6 separate regions of the Homo sapiens genome follow, and all the other regions are linked to region 6. The links are contacts of gene promoters, found by promoter capture Hi-C in human tissues and cell types (Jung and others, 2019). All regions are on one chromosome and are shown on one strand. The core of a region is centred on a gene start or on the middle of the fragment in contact, and the rest is flanking DNA. Distances in the headings are between cores, read along the strand shown. Region 1 has its middle 23 kb from the start of SPATA31F3. Region 2 has its middle 14 kb from the start of SPATA31F3. Region 3 has its middle 29 kb from the start of PHF24. Region 4 overlaps SPATA31F3 (SPATA31 subfamily F member 3). Region 5 has its middle 41 kb from the start of SPATA31F3. Region 6 holds the start of CCL21 (C-C motif chemokine ligand 21).

Region 1 (3,579 bases), core at 241-2,740, 160 kb before region 6:
CCAATTGTCCCTGTTTGCAGATGACATGATTGTATATCTAGAAAACCCCATTGTCTCAGCCCAAAATCTCCTTAAGCTGATAAGCAACTTCAGCAAAGTCTCAGGATACAAAATCAATGTGCAAAAATCACAAGCATTCTTATACACCAGTAACAGACAAACAGCCAAATCATGAGTGAACTTCCATTCACAATTGCTTCAAAGAGAATAAAATACCTAGGAATCCAACCAGATGTGAAGGACCTCTTCAAGGAGAACTACAAACCACTGCTCAATGAAATAAAAGAGGATACAAACAAATGGAAGAACATTCCATGCTCATGGGTAGGAAGAATCAATATCATGAAAATGGCCATACTGCCCAAGGTAATTTATAGATTCAATGCCATCCCCATCAAGCTACCAATGACTTTCTTCACAGAATTGGAAAAAACTACTTTAAAGTTCATATGGAACCAAAAAAGAGCCCACACCACCAAGTCAATCCTAAGCCAAAAGAACAAAGCTGGAGGCATCACGCTACCTGACTTCAAACTATACTACAAGGCTACAGTAACCAAAACAGCATGGTACTGTTACCAAAACAGAGATATAGATCAATGGAACAGAACAGAGCCCTCAGAAATAATGCCGCATATCTACAACCATCTGATCTTTGACAAACCTGACAAAAACAAGAAATGGGGAAAGGATTCCCTATTTAATAGATGGTGCTGGGAAAACTGGCTAGCCATATGTAGAAAGCTGAAACTGGATCTCTTCCTTACACCTTATACAAAAATTAATTCAAGATGGATTAAAGACTTACATGTTAGACCTAAAACCATAAAAACCCTAGAAGAAAACCTAGGCAATACCATTCAGGACATAGGCATGGGCAAGGACTTCATGTCTAAAACACCAAAAGCAAAGGCAACAAAAGCCAAAATTGACAAATGGGATCTAATTAAACTAAAGAGCTTCTGCACAGCAAAAGAAACTACCATCAGAGTGAACAGGCAACCTACAGAATGGGAGAAAATTTTCACAACCTACTCATCTGACAAAGGGCTAATATCCAGAATCTACAATGAACTCAAACAAATTTACAAGAAAAAAACAAACAACCCCATCAAAAAGTGGGCAAAGGACATGAACAGACACTTCTCAAAAGAAGACATTTATGCAGCCAAAAAACACATGAAAAAATGCTCATCACTGGCCATCAGAGAAATGCAAATCAAAACCACAATGAGATACCATCTCACACCAGTTAGAATGGCAATCATTAAAAAGTCAGGAAACAACAGGTGCTGGAGAGGATGTGGAGAAATAGGAACACTTTTACACTGTTGGTGGGACTGTAAACTAGTTCAACCATTGTGGAAGTCAGTGTGGCGATTCCTCAGGGATCTAGAACTGGAAATACCATTTGAGCCAGCCATCCCATTACTGGGTATATACCCAAAGGATTATACATCATGCTGCTATAAAGACACATGCACACGTATGTTTATTGCGGCATTATTCACGATAGCAAAGACTTGGAACCAACCCAAATGTCCAACAATGATAGACTGGATTAAGAAAATGTGGCACATATACACCATGGAATACTATGCAGCCATAAAAAATGATGAGTTCATGTCCTTTGTAGGGACATGGGTGAAATTGGGAATCATCATTCTCAGTAAACTATCGCAAGAACAAAAAACCAGACACCGCATATTCTCACTCATAGGTGGGAACTGAACAATGAGATCACATGGACACAGGAAGGGGAATATCACACTCTGGGGACTGTTGTGGGGTGGGGGGAGGGGGGAGGGATAGCATTGGGAGATATACCTAATGCTAGATGAAGAGTTAGTGGGTGCAGCGCACCAGCATGGCACATGTATACATATGTAACTAACCTGCACAATGTGCACATGTACCCTAAAACTTAAAGTATAATAATAAAAAAATAAAAAATAAAAAAATAATAAAAATAAAAATAAATTGCTGTTTACATTGGCACTCAAAAGGAAAAAAGAAATACATAGGTATAAACCTAACAAACTATGTACCAGATCTTTATGAGGAAAACAAATAAATATATACATATGCAAAACCCTGATGAAAGATATCAAGGAAGAACTAAATAAATGGAAAGATATTCAACATTCATGAATAGGAAGACAATATTGTCAAGATCTCAGTTCTTCACAACTTGATCTACAGCTTTGATGCAATCCCAATAAAAATTCCAGCAGCTATTTTATGGATAATGACAAATTGCTTCTAAAGTTTAGATGGAGAGGTAAAAGACTATCTCAACATGGAAGGAGAAGACCAAGGTTGGAGGACTGATACTACTCAACTTCAAGACTTATTATAAAGCCACAGTAATCAAGACGGTGTGGTAGTGGTGAAGAACACATAAATCAATGGAACAGAATAGAGAGCCCAGAAACAGATCCACAGAAATATAACTGATCTTTGACAAAGGAGAAAATGGTGCTGGAACAACTGAACATCAATATGCAAAAATGAACCTAGACACAGACCTTACATCCTTTACAAAACTTAATTCAAAATGGATCATAGACCTAAACATAAAACAGAAACCTAAAAAACCCCAAAAGATAACATAGGAGAAAACCTAATGGACCTTGGGTATGATGATGACTTTTTAGGTATAACATCAAAGTCATGATCTGTGAAAGAAATAATTGATAAGCTGGACGTCATTAAAATGAAAAAAGTCTTCTCTCTGAAAGACAATGTCAAAAGAATGAGAAGACACACCACATACTGGAAGAAAATATTTGCAAAATACACATCTGGTAAAGGACTGCTATCCAAAGTATACAAAGCACTCTTAAAACTCGACAATAATAAAATAAGAACTGAATTTAAAAATGGGCAAAAGACTTGGACTCCTCACCAAAGAAGGTATACAGATGGCAAGTAAACATGTGAAAAGATGTTCCACACCATATGTCCTTAGGGAACTGCAAATTAAAACAACAAGACAAGATTACATAGCTATTAAAATGGCCAAAATCCAAAACATTGACAATAGCAAATGCTGGCAAGGATGTGGAAGCAACAGGCACTCTCGTTCATTGCTGGTAGGAAAATAGCACAAACACTTTGGAAAACAGGCTGGTAATTTCTTATAAACCTAAATATATTCTTGCCATATGATCCAGCAAGTGAGCTTCTTTGTATTTATCCAAATGAATTGAAAACTTATAGCCACACAAAAACCACATGGATGTTTATAACAGCTTTACTCATGATTTCCAAAACTTGGAAGCAACCAAGATGTCTTTCTATAGATGAATAAACTTTAGTATGTCCATACAATGCAATATTGCTCAGCATTAAAAAGAAACGAGGTATGAAGCCATGAAAAGACACGGAAGGTGGTCTTTGGGTTGATTCCATGTCTTTGCCATTGTGAATAGTGGTGTGCACCTGTGGTCCCAGTTACTTGGGAGGCTGAGCTGAGAGGATTGCTTGAGTCCAGGAGGTCAAGCCTGCAGTGAGACATGATTGTACCACTGCACTTTAGCCTGGGTGGATGAGACCCTGTCTCAAAAAAAAAGACAT
Region 2 (3,744 bases), core at 1,117-3,616, 200 kb before region 6:
TTGGCTAGACATGGGCTGGACAGTTTTTTTTTTTTAAATCTTAAATTTGATAAACAAAAGAGTTCACATAGCAGGCTTGAATTAACTGAAATTTGGAAAATTTCTAGACAAAACTAACTATTCCTATTGTCCTTCCTTTTATGGGTTGAAGGAGCAAATCTCCATGGTACCTAATGGCCATTTTAGAAAACCCCATAGGCCGGGCGCGGTGGCTCACGCCTGTAATCCCGGCACTTTGGGAGGCTGAGGCGGGTGGATCACGACATCAGGAGTTCAAGACCGGCCGGCCAAGATGGTGAAACCCTGCCTCTACTAAAAATACAAAAAATTATCCAGGCGTGGTGGCGGGCACCTGTAATCCCAGCTACTTGGGAGGCTGAGGCAGAGAATTGCTTGAACCCAGGAGGTGGAGGTTGCAGTGAGCCAAGATCATGCCACTGCACTCTAGCCTGGGTGACAGAGAGAGACTCTGTCTCAAAAGAAAAAGAAAAAGAAAAAGAAAAGAAAAGAAAACCCTATAAATATAGTTTATTCATAAAAGACAACTTTATAGTTTTTTTTTAAAAAAAGTCTGACTGACTTTTAGATAGGCAAAACCAAGAATAGTTAGTAATTAGACAAAATAGGCTGGGCATGGTGGCTCATGCCTGTAATCCCAGCACTTTCGGAGGCCAAGGTGGGAAGATCAGTTGAATTCAGGAGTTCAAGACTAGTCTGAGCAACATAATGAGATCTCGTCTTTACTAAAAATCAAAAAAATTAGTCAGGTGTGATGATGTGTGTCTATAGTCCCAGCTATTTGGGAAGCTGAGGCAGAAGGATTGCTTGAGCCTGGGAGATGGAAGCTGTAGTAAGCTATGTTCCTGCCACTGCACTCCAGCCTGGGTGGCAGAATGAGACTCTATCTCAATTGAAAAAAAAAAAGAAGACAAGATACAAGTCATATATATCTAAAGATAAATATGCCATTATTTTCTATAGGGTAAACTAAAAGTTAGAGACTCTGAATCATGACAAAACCCCTTAGTCTTTAAATCTATTTCTTTTTATCTCATAACTTAGTAACATAGACTACTATGTAAATACACTTTTAAGTGTTCACAAAAAGAAACCCTAACAGTTTAATAAAGATTTTAGACTTTAAAAACATTTACTTACATATTTTAATTGACAAATACAAATTATATATGTTTATCATGTATGTTGTTTTGAAATATACATTATGAAATGGCTAATTTGAGCTAATTAACATTTGTACTACCTCACATACTTATTTTGTATGTATGTAGCGAGAACACTTAAAATCTACTCTCTTAGAAATTTTCAAGATCTTTTAGACATTTTTGGCTGCTTATCTGGACTAGTTATTCCTAGAGTATGCACGTAATAACAGAGTGACTTTTATTTCTAAGTTAATTTTTAATGTTTTCCAAGAGAGGGGAAAAAAGGAGGGAAAGGAACAGAACAAAAGAGAGGAGATCCTCATTAGCATAGTGGTGAGCCAAAAAAAAAGAGGCAAAACTGGCTTCAGACAAATATGAATACTGTAGAAGACTAATTATATTCCTTCTTCAAGGAGAGGAGAGAAAGCTTAGATGCAGGAAAACCCATTTTCACATATAGACATACAACAGAGAGTTATTATGGCTGGTTGAAACAGTAGCTCTGACCTTCCACAATTTTATAAGTGATACAATTTAAAAGCCAGCATTTATTAACTCCTGAAGTACAGAAATGAAGGAGGGGTGTCTTCTACATGAAACAAAACAATCACTCCATCTTAATCAGGCAAGATGAAAAACCTCCTTAAAAGGATTTCTTCGGCTGGGCGCGGTGGCTCACGCCTGTAATCCCAGCACTTTGGGAGGCTAAGGCGGGCAGATCACGAGGTCAGAAGATGAGATCCAGACCATCCTAGCTAACACAGTGAAACCCCGTCTCTACCAAAAAACAGAAAAAATTAGCCAGGCATGGTGGCGGATGCCTGTAGTCCCAGCTACTCGGGAGGCTGAGGCAGGAGAATGGCGTGAGCCCGGGAGGCGGAGCTTGCAGTGAGCCGAGATCGCGCCACTGCACTCCAGCCTGGGCGACAGAGCGAGACTCCGTCTCAAAAAAAAAAAAAAAGGATTTCTTCTCTTTATGTTCTAAGGTACCTCTCAAAAGAACAAAGTAGTCTCTGTAAATAGTTCACTTAAGTGTTTGCTGCAATTGCAAACGGTCCCTGGTAAAATTGTGACAGACAGAGAAGCATACAAGATAATGTGATAGTGAGAAACCATACAGGAATTGAGCATTTGGCCTAGATGAGGCTCAGTTTGGGATGAGGCAGAACACGTGAAATGTCAATGGTCCATAGGATGGTGCTTGTCCAGAGCTTGGCCAAAGGCCAGGCTGCCACTGATGACAGGCTAGCTAAACCTCCCAAGTTGGGCAGACAAAACTAAACAAATTAGTCCCCAAAGACACAAAGATAAGATAAGGGAAGAGCCAGGTATAGCGGTGTGCTCTTGCAATCCCAGCTGTTTAGGAAGCTTGAGCCTGAGAGTTCGAGGCCAGCCTAGTCAACATAGTGAGACCCCATCTCTTAAAAAAGAGAAAAAGGGGGCCGGGCATGGTGGCTCACCTGTAATCCCAGCGCTTTGGGAGGCTGAGGCAGGTGGACCACAAGGTCAGGAGTTTGAGACCAGCCTGACCAACATGGTGAAACCCCATCTCTACTAAAAATACAAAAAATTAGCCGGGCATGGTGGCAGGCACCCTGTAATCCCAGCTACTTGGGAGGCTGAGGCAGGAGAATTGCTTGAACCTGGGAGGTGGAGGTTGGAGTGAGCCAAGATCGCACCACTGCACTCCAGCCCAGGCGACGACGTGAGACTCTGTCTCAAAAAAAGAAAAAAAAAAAAAAAGAAAAGAAAAGAAAAGAAAAAAAGGATGAGGTAAGATAAAATAAGATTGAGAAAGAAGTCCTTATAAGGATTTGAAGTGGTGACCCGAGACAAAGTCTGTCCAAAGGACACCATACTATGGAGGCTTTCTGAAGTCCTCAACCCCTTGTGTACTGGCTTGAGGGACTGTCTTATTGGATCTTTACCTGTCTTCTCCCTATAGATGTTTCCTGTTCCCTTTTCCCAGAGACATGCATGAGTTGCTCCCTTATCTCCTACTGGTCTTTGCTCCAATATCATCTTCTCAGACCTCCCCTTGCCACCTATTAAAAATGACAAATCTTGTTTATACTCTTGACTTAGTCTCTTCTTTATTTTTCTCCACTGCACTTATCACCATCTAACATACTACATATTTTCCTATTTGTTTGCTTTCTCTCTCCTTCCACTAGAATGAAAGCTCCCAGAGGGATTTTTTTTTCTGTTTCCGTCTTGACTATAACAATGCCTTTCACATAAACAAATGTACCCAATTTAAATTTGAGGGATCAATGAATTGTCTATGGCAGTGGCAGTGAAGACAAAAGCCTTAAATGGAGCCTAAAATATCCTTACAACAAGAAGTGCCCCTTCCTCAATTACAAAACATTTGTTTCTGGGGTATGGTATTAGTTCCATAAGCTAGAAGAGAAAACTTACAGCAGGTGAAAACTACTGTGAAGAGGCCGGGTGTGGCAGCTCACGCCTATAATCCCAGCACTTTGGGAGGCCGAGGCGGGCAGATCACGAGGTCGGGAGTTCGAGACCAGCCTGACCAACATGATGAAGCCCCATCTCTACTAAAAATACAAAAATTAGC
Region 3 (3,887 bases), core at 239-2,738, 220 kb before region 6:
CCGGGACACAAATCCAGACCATATCGCCTACATATGTTTCAAACTGGGATGCAGTTTCCCAATTTATTCCTCACCCTTCAGACACTGAAACAAGTTTATGAACAATATTTAGCTTTTTAACATTAGAATTGGAGTTATAATATTGAAAGATGTTGAAAAGGTAATCTGGGCTAGTTCCTCTCCACATCCCTGACCCTATCTGAGAAGTTTGTTAGCTTCTTTGTTCTTCTAAAAAACATCAATTCCCTAATGGCAAGATTCCATAAGAGAAGAAGAATTGTCATACCATTGCTAGAAATCTTCATAAATACCAGGAGTAAATGTCCCTGATCTTTGTGAAAATGCATTTGGGGCTCCTTCGCTTCCTTCCAGCCCTTTCCGGACATATCCCTTGATTCTGCTCTGGAGGTGAGCACTGGCCACAAAGTCCTGCACTGTCTTTATTTAGGACACCAGGCCCACAGGATTCTGGGTGCCTCCTTCAGTGAAGAGGCTTCTGCACTCTACCCTTGTGTCAGAAATCCCATAAAGTTAAGGAACAAGAGATGGTAAACCATTTCAGGAGATAAATCATTTCAGACACACCCAAATGGGATGTCTTATCTCACGTTCCTTCTCTTTTACCAAAGGAAGAGTCAACCAGGTTATCCCCGACACAAGAGACCCGAAGCATGAGTCTCGGCACCACTTAAGTACACTGAGAAACCTGCACAAACCAGTGGCTCCTCCCAGACACTGAGAAATTAAACTTCAGGCTTGGATGAAGCCCCAGACATTTTAGGGAGATGATCAACAATTTTTCTTCTCTATTTTACGTGGAAATGCTAATTTCACTTGCAAAAGAGAAGCCCCAAAATAGTATTCTTTATGATTATAACAGCAGAAATGTAGGAGTATAAAAGTTGTAATGTTATAGACAAATTAAGCATGAAATGCAAATATAATAGCAGAGTGGGCTGGGTATCCAGATCTCGCTGAAATTCTCTGAAAGGGTTACAATGTAAAGCTTCTTCAGGGGACTAAAGGACCACAGTGTTAGGGAGAAACAGTAGGGGAAAAAAGAGGATGAAGAGTCGGGGAGGCCATCTTAGGTTTGTGATCTCTCTTCAACTCTTCTCAGGAGGCTGATCACAAATTTGAATACTTGCAGCAGTGAATTCTCCCACGGCAGTATGTGTGCTTGAGCTAATAGCTGTTACATGGCGGGGCTGTAGGGGGCGACAATACAGATTGCTGCTTATGGTGACTCTCACAGCTTAACGATATTTGATTACCTGCAAATCTGATTGCTTTAATCCTCTGCTCTAAATTCTTCAACAGATCCCAGTACTAATAGAATAAGATCACTCATCATTCATTAGTTTGCTCATCTCATCCCTTCATTTTTTTCCCCACAAATATTTATTGAGTAATAGACCCTGTGCTAGGTGCTGGAGATGTAGCAGTAAAGAGAACAGAAAAGGGAGTCCCACCCTTGTGGAGTTTGTTCTGGTGGAGACAGACCATAAGCAAATAATTTAAATGGAGATAATAGTTTGATAATAGATTGATGTGGATTTTTTTCACAGACACCCTAACCCAAATCATATTTAAAAAATCCAATCATATTCCCCTGCTGCCATTCCATCAAAATGGTCCCCACCTAACAAACAAAAGGAGCATATGATAAAGGGGAAACTCCCTCCAGAGGAGGTGAAATAAAAAGAAGCACTTTTCATTGACAGTGGGAGTATGGAGGTGGGATGATGCAATAGAAATATTCAGATAGGGAGAAGGGTGACCTGAGATCCTTTGATCTTGGTGACAGGGTACAAGCCTCAGAGAAGCTCTATGTTTGACATGGAGGTGGGGGAGGGAAGAGTGGGCTATAGCACAGCATCTGTGAAGGCAAGTGTCTAGGGAGTGCTGCTGAAATCATGCTGGGTTCCCAGTGGTCTGTATCTAGAAGCGATTCAAAAGTTCCTGTGTAGCCCCAGGGTACCAAGAGGACTGCAAGACCAAGGGACTCCTGGACTACTGAGATGAGAGCAGTAATGGAGTTTGGTGCTTCCAGAGTTCTGGTGGTAGTGTTTGTTTGTCCATCCCAAGTGGATTCTAGGACAGAAGTTAATGGACAGGGATGGATTAGAGATAAGCTGGATGATACATCTCAATTGGAGTCCAGCAGAAAATGGCAACACATAGACCAGCTGTACCCAGGGAAGAGCAGTAAACTTTCCCTTATACAGACACTGTGCTCCCATAGGAGAAGGGAGAGGGGAAGAACAATTCTATAAGGGCTGAACTTTGAATTAATGCTTACCAGGAAGAGACTATCACACATGAAAAGATGGAGGGAGAATGAAAAAAAGACTGGCCTGATAGGAAAGGTTTAGCTCAGGAGAGTCTTTTTTGCCACAAAGCAGAAGCATAAACTTTGTTGACTCATTAGTGGGTTTTAAAAAAATTTTTAATTTTTGTGGGTATATAGGTGTATATATTTATGGGGTACATGAGATGTTTTGATACAGGCAAGCAATGCATAATAATCACATCATGGAGAATGGGGTATCTATCCCTTAAGTATTTATCCTTTGTGTTACAAACAATCCAATTATACTCTTTTAGTTATTTTTAAATGTACAATTATTATTGGCTATAGTCATCCTGTTGTGCCGTCAAAGAGTAGATTTTTTTTTTTTTTTTTTTGAGACAGAGTCTCACTCTTGTTGCCCAGGCTGGAGTGCAATGGCGTGATTTCAGCTTACTGCAACCTTCACCTCCTGGGTTCAAGCGACTCTCCTGTCTCAGCCTCCCAAGTAGCTGGGATTACAGGCACTCTCCACCATGCCTGGCTAATTTTTGTATTTTTAGTAGAGGCAAGGTTTCACCATGTTGGCCAGGCAGGTCCAAAGGTAGATCTTATTAATTCTAGCTATTTTTCTATATCCATTAACTATCCCCACCTCCCCCCAGCTCCCAACTCATTAATGTTTTAAAACATAAGTTTCATGAAGTCACACCTCTGCTTAAAATCCTTCAATAGTGACATTGGCAAGATGGCTGGATAGAGATGCCTGGTATTCATCTATCCCACAAGAAAGGCCCAACACAATGAATAAACAAACTAAGGTTTGACTGGAGTGTGGAAGGGAGAGTGGTGGAGTGTGGTGGGGGAGTGGAGATGCACCTGTGGTGATCAGAAATCCAGGAGGGCAGCGAGGAAGCACTGGGCCTCTATAGCCCTGTCTCCCCCACCTGGATTGGATGTGCCCAGAGTCAGGAAGGACTTCTTATTGCAGGGAAAAGGTAAGCACAAGATCTCCACCAGCCCCCACTGGCACTGCAAAAACCTACAGTCCTTATTACAGAAGAATCCTACGGTCTTCCCAAGCCCTGAGCCCAGTTTGAAGAGCTGCTGGGTATGCAAGCAGCTACATTGCTCCAGATTAGGAGAGCAAGGTGTGCACTCCCCATTCCCCCCATCCCACTCCCTGTGGGCCAAGCTGCTGCAGCATAATGCCATCTTGAGAAAAGAGCAAACTCTGAAGCACACCCTGTTCTGGGGGCCGGTAGCCACTGCATATCTCCAGCACTGGGGCGCTCCATCCTCATTATGCCAAGCCCACACCACACGGTTGGCTGAATGCCATACGTCAGCTGCACAGAGCTTGGGCCTAGGATCAGCTGTGACTCTGGTCCTGCACAGCAAGAAAACAAACCCCTGCTTACTGCACTTCCAGCCAGATGAACAGTCTGCCAGTCCTGCCCAGGGCCAACCTGCCTTGAGCTGGCCAAACTGCTCTGCACCCTCCCACAAGAGAGAGAGGCCCCTGAGCCTCCTAGTAGCTAATATGCACCCAGGCCAGTGGAGTGGCTATGCTCCCATGCTCAGGACCGGAGAAACA
Region 4 (3,623 bases), core at 61-2,560, 180 kb before region 6:
ATTTTCAGGACTGGGAAAGGACAATGCCAACCCCGGCCCACACTTTTCCGAGAAGGCAGATGTCACTCCATCATTAATGTTTGTCATGTTTCTCTTCCCAGCCAGGGCTGGCTTCCTCAGGAAGGAAGTGTGCGGCGAATCCTGTGTGCAGACCCCTGCTGCCAAATCTGCAATGTTATGGCTCTGGAGATTAAGCAATTGCTGGCAGGTGAGAACAACCAGATCTCCCTGACTTCACTGGGGCCATCACAGGGCTCCTCTTGCCTAGAGGCTTTGTCCACATCTAGTGTGTCTTTTAAGCATAGTCAGGATCTGGGCTCCCCGAAATCCAAAGAGCTTTCACTGGCATCTGTAACTCCAACACTGTCACAATTAATGGATCAGAAATCTTTAACCCAGTCAGCTGCCCGGTCAGCTGGTGCAGACAGCGTCCAAGATTCCTGGGCTGATCACTTTCAGCGAGGACAGAGATCTCAAGTCCCAGCTGTGTCCCAGGTCATGGGATCTCTGTCTTCAAACTTTGAGAAGCCTGGAATTCCTCTGAGCCAGCAGGAGAGGACGAAAAACAACTCCAAATTTGTCCTGGAGAACCAAGGTCAGCAGCCCTTGAATACTAGATTCCCTTTCTTTCCCTGAACCCAGAGCTCCCAAACCTACAACAACAGCCTATGACCCTACATTCCTTTCCAACTGCTATTGCAATGTCCAAAAAGTCCTGAGGAATCTTCAAGTACAAGTGGGATATTGTTGCACATATTCCCACAACTGAGGGCTCCCAAGATCTGTGGAGGAGTTCTGTACAGGGCAGCTTATACCACACCACTTCTAATTTTCCAAAGGATGGAAAACAGACAGACAAACAGCCATTTCTTTCACTCTGAATGCTATCTCTAAGGCTTCTGCTGAACAGATGAGCTTCCATCCCTTTGACTCTGGGTTTCATGGGAGGCTAGCTGGTTCACCTAAGCTTTCAGGGTTTTTGAAGGATCCACTATGGACTCAGAGCAGAAAAATTACTGTGAACAAATCCCAAACCCCATGGTTCTAGCTCTACCCTCTCCTCTCTTTCAGCTTCTAAGTGGCCTCTGTCCACTGCCTAGAGGATGCACTGAGGCCTCAATGTGCCACATCTGTAGCTACCTTACTGTGGTTTCTCTTTTCTGCACATTACTGTCTGCCTTTAGAGATCCCTGGTCTGACTTTAGAAATCTCCAAAACAGGGGAGGCTTTGGCCCTTTCTCTGCAATGATTTCTCCTTCACCTCTGTACTAATTAAAATCTCCCCTCCTTCCCCACCTTTTCCCCCACATTCTCCATCTGACCATTGACAAATCCAGATCAATGTCCTATATCTGACTCAGGCTAAGTGAAAGCCTTGGAGTGGCACCTGCTGTAGAGGCAGCTCCAGCTTCAGTGGAGTTTGCCAGCTGTTGTCCAGAGATCTCTGTAGATCCAGGAAATCATACAATGTAAGCCCTGAGACATGTTGCAGCCTTTCCCACTAGATCCAGGACACTCTTTGATTGGGGAAGTCCATTTCAGTCCTCAAGAGGGAGGAAGCATTCTCCTAGACCATGCCCAGAGGCTGCTAGGATTCCACCTCCAGGAGCAATTGAAACAGAGGGTTGATTTGTCATTGCTGGGACCTGATCCAAAAGATCCAGCAGTCTATCCAGTTCATCCTGTGACCTGATGACCAATAATCCCTGCCCTGGAGCAGTACAGCCCTGACCTATGTGGGTCTTCCCAGCATGCAGCACCAGAAGCTAGTGGGAATAGTGGCCTTCTCTGATCCACTGTGGCAGGAGGGCCAGTCCGCAATTGTTTCCTCAGGCCAAGGTAATGTTGCAGAGCCACATAGATTACAAATATGGGAAGATCTGCTAGGGCATTGTCCCTGCCCATATCTGCCATTGTTGGGACTACAAATCACTGGTTCTGCAGTATTCCAAAGGCCTGGGAAGCAACTTGGCGCCCCTGTCCTCTGAAAAGCAAACACCTGGACCTGGAAGTGACACATATCAGCCCCTACACAGATCAGGAAAGGACACTCTGAATACTGACAGGCCTTGATCAGCAGCAACAGGGCTTGCCAGATGCTGTTACTGATGATCCTGAGCTGCCCAGACCCTGTCCCAGGAAGCCACTGAGAAACTTGAGACAAGTTTTGGCCCTTCTGTCAGGGCTGCCTGCTCTCTATTATGTGGCTCTTTCCAGGGCTGTGGCCCAGGCAATCACTCACGAATCCACAATCACAGATTGAGCCCATCAGAGCCTCTGACTCAATCTCATCTGAACAGCAATGTGTAAGTCCTGGGCCATGCTTTCAAAACACCAATGAAGCTTGTGTAGATAACGTACAAGTGTTCTGCACTAAAACACAAGCTGATGGAGATGGTACCGCTAGAGAGGCAGACAGATCCTCACAGCCCCTAATCACTCAAGGCACCCATCTTGGCCAAACTAAATTTCTACCTGAAAAATAAATTCCTTGAGATACATTTGGGAAGTCCCATAAAAACAAGGGAATCCAGGGAACAAATTTTCACCATCCCAAAGAATATCTCCACACAGGGATCCTTTAGGAGTCTAAAGATTGCTAAACCAAGGGAAAACATTACTCCAGAAACTTCATATCCCACCAGGCATCCCATGGGCCCCAGATCCAGAAGGGGTTGGACTGAAAGAACAGCTTGCCGTTGAACTAAAGACAGTGCAGCAGAGCTACAAGTGATCTAGTTCCATAGCAGTACCCCATGCCCACTGGGATTCTGGGATCTCACACCCAGTGGAGACATGACAGAGGCCCAGGTACTTTGTGTTCAGCTGGAGGCTAGAGTGAACAACCCAGCCTGGAGGGCCCTAAGCCCCTTAGACCAGGTCTTTGCAAAAGTGAGGACAAGTCCCTACCCCAGCAGAGAAAACAGTTGACCCAGTGACATTTGATGACATTCAAAGCAGCTGGAAATCACAGAGAAGGGGGTGTCTGGACAGCACTGGAGCTCTCCCCAGCCAGAGAGAACACCCTTTCTGCCAAGGTTCAGGGGCGAGTAGGGGCACTTCTAAGCAGAACTCCAGAGCTCACAACTTGCCAAATATATCTCCAGGATCTTTCTTAGGTAAAACTTTAGTTTAGCTAAGATGGTTGCCTTGAGCAGAGACTAGCAAGGATCTGTCTGGATCTGCGGAGCCCCATTTCCATCCTCTCAGTACTGGCTATTGCTGTTTCACCAGCTTCTCCATAACCTTGAGTTCCAAGAGCATCCTCCAGGATTACTTGGGGCAAAAGGACCAGATAAGAATAATTTGCAAAGCTGTTAGAGTAAGCCGAATAACCTCATCCAAACAAGGATTTCTGAGAATGCCAAACCGGGAGTGCCCAGAGCTTAAAGGGCCAACTTACTGGGCCATTACTTGCTGGGCCAAAATTTTGCAAGTACAGTATTTGAAGGGGTAAATTTTTTTCAGATCCAAAGTTTTCAGGGTCAAATAGTTCAGGGCCATGTTTTACAGGGCAAAATTTGCAGGGTCAAAATTTGCAGGGCCACACTTTCTAGGGCTAAGAGTTGCAGGGTCTGGTAAGGGCAGTCCATACTCACAAGAGCATCATCCTTCCAGAAGCT
Region 5 (3,363 bases), core at 44-2,543, 140 kb before region 6:
TGATAACCAGAATATCCAGCTTAGAGAGAAACATAGCTGACCTGATAGAGCTAAAAAACACAACACAAGAACTTCATAATGCAATCACAAATATCAACAGCAGAATAGATCAAGCAGAGGAAAGAATCTCAGAGTTTGAAGACTATCTTTCTGAAATAAGACAGGCAGACAAGAATAGAGAAAAAGAATGAAAAGGAATGTATGAAATCTCTGAGAAATATGGGATTATGTAAAAAGACTGAACCTATGACTGATTAGGGTACCTGAAAGAGACAAGGAGAAGGAAAACAAGTCAGAAAACATGCTTCAGGATATCATCCAGGAGAACTTCCCCAACTTAGCAAGACAGGCCAACATTCAAATTCAGGAAGTCCAGAGAACCCCAGTAAGATACTCCACAAGATCAACCCCAAGACACATAATCATCAGATTCTCCAGGGTTTAAATGAAAGAAAAAATGCTAAGAGCAGCCAGAAGGAAAGGCCAGGTCATCTACAAAGGAAGTCCACCAGGCTAACAGTGGACCTCTCAGTGGAAACACTATAAGCCAGAAGAGATTGGGGGCCAATATTCAACATTCTTAAAGAAAAGAATTTCTAACCCAGAATTTAATATCCAGCCAAACTAAGCTTCATAAGCAAAGGAGAAATAAGATCCTTTTCAGGACAAGCAAATGTTAAGGGAATTCGTCACCACCAGGCCTGCCTTGCAAGAGCTCTTGAAATAAGCACTACATAGGGAAAGGAAAAACTGTTACCAGCCACTAAAGAAGCACACTGAAGTACACAGATCAATGACACTATTAAGCAACCACACAAACAAGTCTGCAAAATAACTAGCTAGCATCATGATGACAGGATCAAATTCACACATAACAATGTTAATCTTAAATGTAAATGGGTTAAATGCCCCAATTAAAAGATACAGAATGGCAAGCTGGATAAAGAGCCAAGCCCCATTGGTATGCTGTCTTCAAGAGACCCATCTAATGTGCAAAGACACACATAGGCTCAAAATAAAAGGATGGGGGAAATTTTACCAAGCAAATGGAAAACAGAAAAAACCAGGGTCATAATCCTAGTTTCTGACAAAACAGACTTTAAACCAACAAAGATCAAAAAAGCCAAAGAAGGGTATTACATATGGTAAAGCATTCAATTCAACAAGAAGAGCTAACTATCCTAAATATACATACACCAATACAGGAGCACTCAAATTCACAAAACAAGTTCTTAGAGACCTTCAAAGAGACTTAGACTCCCACACAATAATAGTGGGAGATTTTAACATCCCACTGACAATATTAGACCGATCATCAAGACAGAAAATTAACAAAGATATTCAGGACCTGAACTCAGCTTTGGATAAAGTGGACCTGATCGATATCTACAGAACTCTTTACCCAAAAATGACAGGATATATATTCTTCTCATTGCCACATGGCACCTACTCTAAAATTGAAAACATAATTAGAAGAAAAATACTTCTCAGCAAATGCAAAATAACTGACATAATAACAAACAGTCTCCCATACTACAGCATAATAAAATTAGAACTCAAGTTTAAGAAACTCACTCAAAGCCACACAACTTCATGGAAATTGACAACCTGCTCCTGAATGATTCGTAGGTAAATAATGAAATTAAGGCAAAAATCAAGAAGTTATTTTTGAAACTAATGAGAACAAAGAAACAATGTACCAGAATCTCTGGGACACAGCTAAAGCAGTGTTAAGAGGGAAATTTATAGTACTAAATGCCCACATCAAAAAGCTAGAAAGATCTCAAATCAACAACCTAGCATAACAACTAAAAGAACTAGAGAACCAAGAGCAAACAAATCCCAAAGCTAGCAGAAGACAAGAAATAACCAAGATCAGAAAAGAACTGAAGGAGACAGAGACACAAAAAAACTCTTCAAAAAAGCAACGAATCTGGAAGCTGATTTTTTTTGAAAAAAAAAAAAAAATAGATAGACTGCTAGCTAGACTAATAAAGAAAAGAGAGAACCAAATAGACACAATCAGAAATGATAAAGGAGATATCACCACTGACCCCACAGAAATACAAACAACCATCAGAGAATACTATAAACACCTCTATGCACATAAACTAGAAGATCTAGAAGAAATGGATAAATTCCTGGACACATACAGCCTCCCAAGACTAAATTAGGAGGAAACTGAATCCCTAAAAAGACCAATAACAAGTTCTAAAATTGAGGCAGTAACAAATAGCCTAGCAACCAAAAAAGCTCAGGACCAGACAGATTTACAGCTGAATCCTACCAGAGGTACAAAGAAGAGCTGGTGCCATTTCTTTTTTTTTTTTTTTTTTTGAGACGGAGTCTCGCTCTGTCACCCAGGCTGGAGTGCAGTGGCGGGATCTCGGCTCACTGCAAGCTCCACCTCCCGGGTTCACGCCATTCTCCTGCCTCAGCCTCCCAAGTAGCTGGGACTACAGGCACCCGCCACTACGCCCGGCTAATTTTTTGTATTTTTAGTAGAGACGGGGTTTCACCGTTTTAGCTGGGATGGTCTCGATCTCCTGACCTCGTGATCCGCCCACCTCGGCCTCCCAAAGTGCTGGGATTACAGGCGTGAGCCACCGCGCCCGGCCGAGCTGGTGCCATTTCTATTGAATCTATTCCAAACAATTGAAAAGAAGGGACTCCTCCCTAACTCGTTTTATGAGGCCATCACCATCCTGATACCAAAACCTGGCAGAGACAAAACAAAAAAAGAAAACTTTAGGCCAATATCCCCAATGAACGTCAACGCAAAAATCCTTAATAAGATACTGGCAAGCCAAATCCAGCAGCACATCAAAAAGCTTATCCACCATGGTCATGTTGGCTTCATCCCCAGGATGCAAGGTCAGTTCAAAATACACAAATTAATAAATTTAATTCATCACATAAACAGAACTAAAGACAAAAATCACATGATTATCTCAACAGATGCAGAAAAGGCCTTTGATAAAATTCAACATCTCTTCATGTTAAAAACTCTCAATAAACTAGGTACTGAAGGAACATACCTCAAAATAATAACAGCCATATATGACAAACCCACAGCCAATATTAGGCTGAATGGGCAAAAGCTGGAAGCATTCCCTTTGAAAACCAGCACAAGACAAGGATGCCCTCTCTCACCATTCAGATATCACAGGTAAAGGGGTATAAAGCTTATTTAAATAAATAATAGGAGAAAACTTTCCAAGCCTAGGGAAATATGTAACTATCCAGGTACAGAGCTGGGTGTGGTGGGGCACACCTGTAATTCCAGCTACTCAAAAGGATCAATTGAGCCAAGGAGGTCAAGACCATCTGGGCAACACAGTGAGACTCCAACTCAAAAAATAC
Region 6 (3,523 bases), core at 982-3,481:
TAATGACAAAACATCTGAAATCTGATGAAAAGCATGAATATACATACCCAAGAAGTTCACAAACTCTAAGAAGGATAAACTCAGAGATCCACACCAAGACAAATTATAGTCAAATTGTTGAAACCCAAAGATTTTAAAAGCAGCAAGAGAGAAGTAACTCATTATGTACAAGAGATTCTCAATAAGATTACCAGCTGATTTCAGAAACCATGGGAGGCCAAAAGACAATGGGGGATATATTTAAAGACTGAAGAAAAAAAAAAGTCAAACAAGAATTCTATATATCCAGCAAAACTATGCTGCAAGAATTAAGGAGAAATAAGACATTTCCAGATAAACAAAACTTAGGAAGTTCATTAATAGTAGACCTGCCCACAAGAAAAGCTAACGGGAGAAAGAAAAAACAAACAAACAAACAAACAAATGCTAAAGGAAGACCTTCAGAATGAAACAAAAGGACAAAAAATAATAACTCACAGCCACACAAAGAAACAAAGATCTCTGATAAACATAACAACATAGCAGGCTGGGCGCAGTGGCTCATGTCTGTAATCCCAGCACTTTGGGAGGCCAAGGTGAGCGGATCATTTGAGGTCAGGAGTTTGAGACCAACCAGGCCAACATGGTGAAACCCCATCTCTACAAAAAATAGAAAAATTAGCTGGATGTGGTGACAGGTGCCCATAATCCCAGTTACTCGGGAGGCTGAGGCAGGAGAATGGCTTGAACCCGGAGGGTGGAGGTTGCAGTGAGCCAAGATCACGCCACTGCACTCCAGCCTGGGCGAAAGAGTGAGACTCTGTCTCAAAAAAAAAAAAAAAAAAGTAACAACATTGCCAGGTATGCTGGTTCACACTTGTAATCCCATTACTTTGGGAGGCCAAGGCGGGTGAATTGCTTGAGGTCAGGCGTTCGAGACTAGCCTGGGCAACATAGTGAGACCTCGTGTCTACAAAAAATACAAAAATTAGCCAGGCATGGTGGCCCCACTACTCAGGAGACTGAGGTGGAAGGATCACTTGAGCCCAGGAGGTCGAGGCTGCTGTGAGCTGAGATTGTGCCACCGCACTCCAGCCTGGGTGACAAAGCGAGACCCTGTGTCAAAAAAAAAAAAAAAGATAAAAGCTAGTATTGTATTTTTAGTTTGTAGCCCCACTTTTTTCTATATAATTTAAAAGGAAAATGCATTAAACAATAATTATAAATCTATGTCAATGGGAACACAATGTATAAAGATGTAATCTGTGACAATAACAATATAAAGAAGGGACTAAAATGTATACGAGCAAAATGTTTATATACCATTGAAACTAAGTTGGTATTATTCAAACTAGGTTGTTATCAGTTTAGAATGTTAATTATAATCACCAAGGTATCCATTAGGAAAATAACTACAAAATATATAGAAAAGGAAAGCAAAGGGGAATCAAAATGGTTATGCTACAGACCAGGTGCAGTCGCTCATACCTATAATTCCAGCACTTTGGGTGGCCAAGGCAGGAGGATCGCTTGAGCCCAGGAGTTCAAGACCAGACTGGGCAACATAGCAAGACCTCATCTCTAGAAAAAATAAAAATGAAAAATGAAAACAGTAGCCGGACGTAGTGGCATGTGCCTGTGGTCCCAGCTCCTCAAGAGGCTGAGGCAGGCAGATCATTTGAGCCCAGGAGCTCAAGACTAGCCTGGGCTAGACATCGTGAAACCTCGTCTCTACAAAAAAAAAATAGAAAAATCAGCCAGGCGCAGTGGTGCTTGCCTGTAGTCCCAGCTCCTGGGGAGGTTGAGGTAGGAGGATCACTCGAGCCCAGGAGGCGGAGATTTCAGTGAGCCAAGATCAACCACTGCACTCCAGCCTGGGTGACAGAGTTAGACCCTGTCTCAAAAAAAAAAAAAAAAAAAAGAACTCTTACAATTTAATAATCAGATTTGCTGGAAGGAGGGGAAGGGTATGGATCCTGGAGCGTAGTGAGGAGACAGTCATGGTGTTCCAGGGGAGAGGCAGTGAGGCCTGCATGAAAGCAGTAGCTGGGAATAGAAGGAAGGCTCAGGCCCAGACATATTCAACTAATGAGGACATAAAATTTGGCAGCTGAGGACTGTCCACTTAGTTTGAGATAAGTGGGGCTGGGTGCCAGCAAATCCAGCTTTCAGGAAGGAAAAGGAGTGGGGATAAGTTAAGGGAAGTGAAAGTGTCTAGCTACATAAATAGCAGGCCAATCCCAGCCCACGCACAGACCCCCAACTTGCAGCTGCCCACCTCACCCTCAGCTCTGGCCTCTTACTCACCCTCTACCACAGACATGGCTCAGTCACTGGCTCTGAGCCTCCTTATCCTGGTTCTGGCCTTTGGCATCCCCAGGACCCAAGGTACCAAGGCAGGGAGGGGCCTTGCATGGGGCTAAGGGGATCAAGAGGCCTGGATAGGAGCTTGCCAGCAGCCCCTGGCTCCCTGTGAATCCCACCCTGCAGGCAGTGATGGAGGGGCTCAGGACTGTTGCCTCAAGTACAGCCAAAGGAAGATTCCCGCCAAGGTTGTCCGCAGCTACCGGAAGCAGGAACCAAGCTTAGGCTGCTCCATCCCAGCTATCCTGTGAGTGGACACAAAGGGGTGGGTACTGGCTGGTGACGGGGTGGGGAGGGCATGGTGGGCAAGACTAAGAAGGCTTACTAGCCCCCACCCGCAGGTTCTTGCCCCGCAAGCGCTCTCAGGCAGAGCTATGTGCAGACCCAAAGGAGCTCTGGGTGCAGCAGCTGATGCAGCATCTGGACAAGACACCATCCCCACAGAAACCAGCCCAGGGCTGCAGGAAGGACAGGGGGGCCTCCAAGACTGGCAAGAAAGGAAAGGGCTCCAAAGGCTGCAAGAGGTGAGGAATCTGAGGGATGTGGGTAAAGGGGAGCCTCAGTCAGCCCCTCACACCCCTCTTCTGCCCTCACAGGACTGAGCGGTCACAGACCCCTAAAGGGCCATAGCCCAGTGAGCAGCCTGGAGCCCTGGAGACCCCACCAGCCTCACCAGCGCTTGAAGCCTGAACCCAAGATGCAAGAAGGAGGCTATGCTCAGGGGCCCTGGAGCAGCCACCCCATGCTGGCCTTGCCACACTCTTTCTCCTGCTTTAACCACCCCATCTGCATTCCCAGCTCTACCCTGCATGGCTGAGCTGCCCACAGCAGGCCAGGTCCAGAGAGACCGAGGAGGGAGAGTCTCCCAGGGAGCATGAGAGGAGGCAGCAGGACTGTCCCCTTGAAGGAGAATCATCAGGACCCTGGACCTGATACGGCTCCCCAGTACACCCCACCTCTTCCTTGTAAATATGATTTATACCTAACTGAATAAAAAGCTGTTCTGTCTTCCCACCCAAGTACCTGTTCCCATGTGTTTATGTCCACCGAGATGCCAAGGTTCCTACAGGGTGGGGTCACACACTCTGAGCCGAAAGCTCAGGCTGAAAAATGCTATGTTCTCATCTACCCCAAGAGTTTCCTTGCCTCTCAGGTGCCTGCACCCCTGAGCAGTTAAAGG

What was found. The method cuts DNA at HindIII sites, captures the fragments that hold promoters and counts their contacts. A contact is called where the count stands out against the background at its distance.
Region 1: a fragment that was not itself captured here is called in contact with the fragment with the promoter of CCL21 in region 6 in 2 of the 25 tissues and cell types used here (H1 embryonic stem cells and hippocampus).
Region 2: a contact is called between a fragment that was not itself captured here and the fragment with the promoter of CCL21 in region 6, in 1 of the 25 tissues and cell types used here (H1 embryonic stem cells).
Region 3: a contact is called between a fragment that was not itself captured here and the fragment with the promoter of CCL21 in region 6, in 1 of the 25 tissues and cell types used here (spleen).
Region 4: a contact is called between a fragment that was not itself captured here and the fragment with the promoter of CCL21 in region 6, in 1 of the 25 tissues and cell types used here (H1 embryonic stem cells).
Region 5: a contact is called between a fragment that was not itself captured here and the fragment with the promoter of CCL21 in region 6, in 3 of the 25 tissues and cell types used here (dorsolateral prefrontal cortex, liver and pancreas).

The regions. Positions count from the first base shown.
Region 1 is chr9:34,870,576-34,874,154 of GRCh38, reverse strand. It overlaps a transcript of PHF24 not described here. Among named protein-coding and RNA genes, the nearest start is that of SPATA31F3, 23 kb to the left of the region's middle. RefSeq lists an enhancer at 3,178-3,579. The HindIII fragment of the contact is 5,156 bases long and covers 1-3,579 here.
Region 2 is chr9:34,908,005-34,911,748 of GRCh38, reverse strand. It overlaps a transcript of PHF24 not described here. Among named protein-coding and RNA genes, the nearest start is that of SPATA31F3, 14 kb to the right of the region's middle. The HindIII fragment of the contact is 3,933 bases long and covers 400-3,744 here.
Region 3 is chr9:34,927,018-34,930,904 of GRCh38, reverse strand. It overlaps a transcript of PHF24 not described here. Among named protein-coding and RNA genes, the nearest start is that of PHF24, 29 kb to the left of the region's middle. RefSeq lists an enhancer at 3,585-3,887. The HindIII fragment of the contact is 4,030 bases long and covers 1-3,503 here.
Region 4 is chr9:34,889,631-34,893,253 of GRCh38, reverse strand. It overlaps SPATA31F3 (SPATA31 subfamily F member 3), which reads left to right. Exons shown (of 5, transcript NM_001309427.2): 4 at 102-208; 5 at 3,622-3,623. It also overlaps a transcript of PHF24 not described here. Among named protein-coding and RNA genes, the nearest start is that of SPATA31F3, 4.3 kb to the left of the region's middle. The HindIII fragment of the contact is 4,006 bases long and covers 1-3,313 here.
Region 5 is chr9:34,852,802-34,856,164 of GRCh38, reverse strand. It overlaps a transcript of PHF24 not described here. Among named protein-coding and RNA genes, the nearest start is that of SPATA31F3, 41 kb to the left of the region's middle. The HindIII fragment of the contact is 5,500 bases long and covers 1-3,363 here.
Region 6 is chr9:34,708,844-34,712,366 of GRCh38, reverse strand. CCL21 (C-C motif chemokine ligand 21) reads left to right here and starts at 2,231. Exons shown (of 4, transcript NM_002989.4): 1 at 2,231-2,367; 2 at 2,470-2,590; 3 at 2,685-2,867; 4 at 2,940-3,362. The coding sequence starts at 2,301. The coding sequence ends at 2,973. It also overlaps a transcript of PHF24 not described here. The HindIII fragment of the contact is 9,492 bases long and covers 1-3,523 here.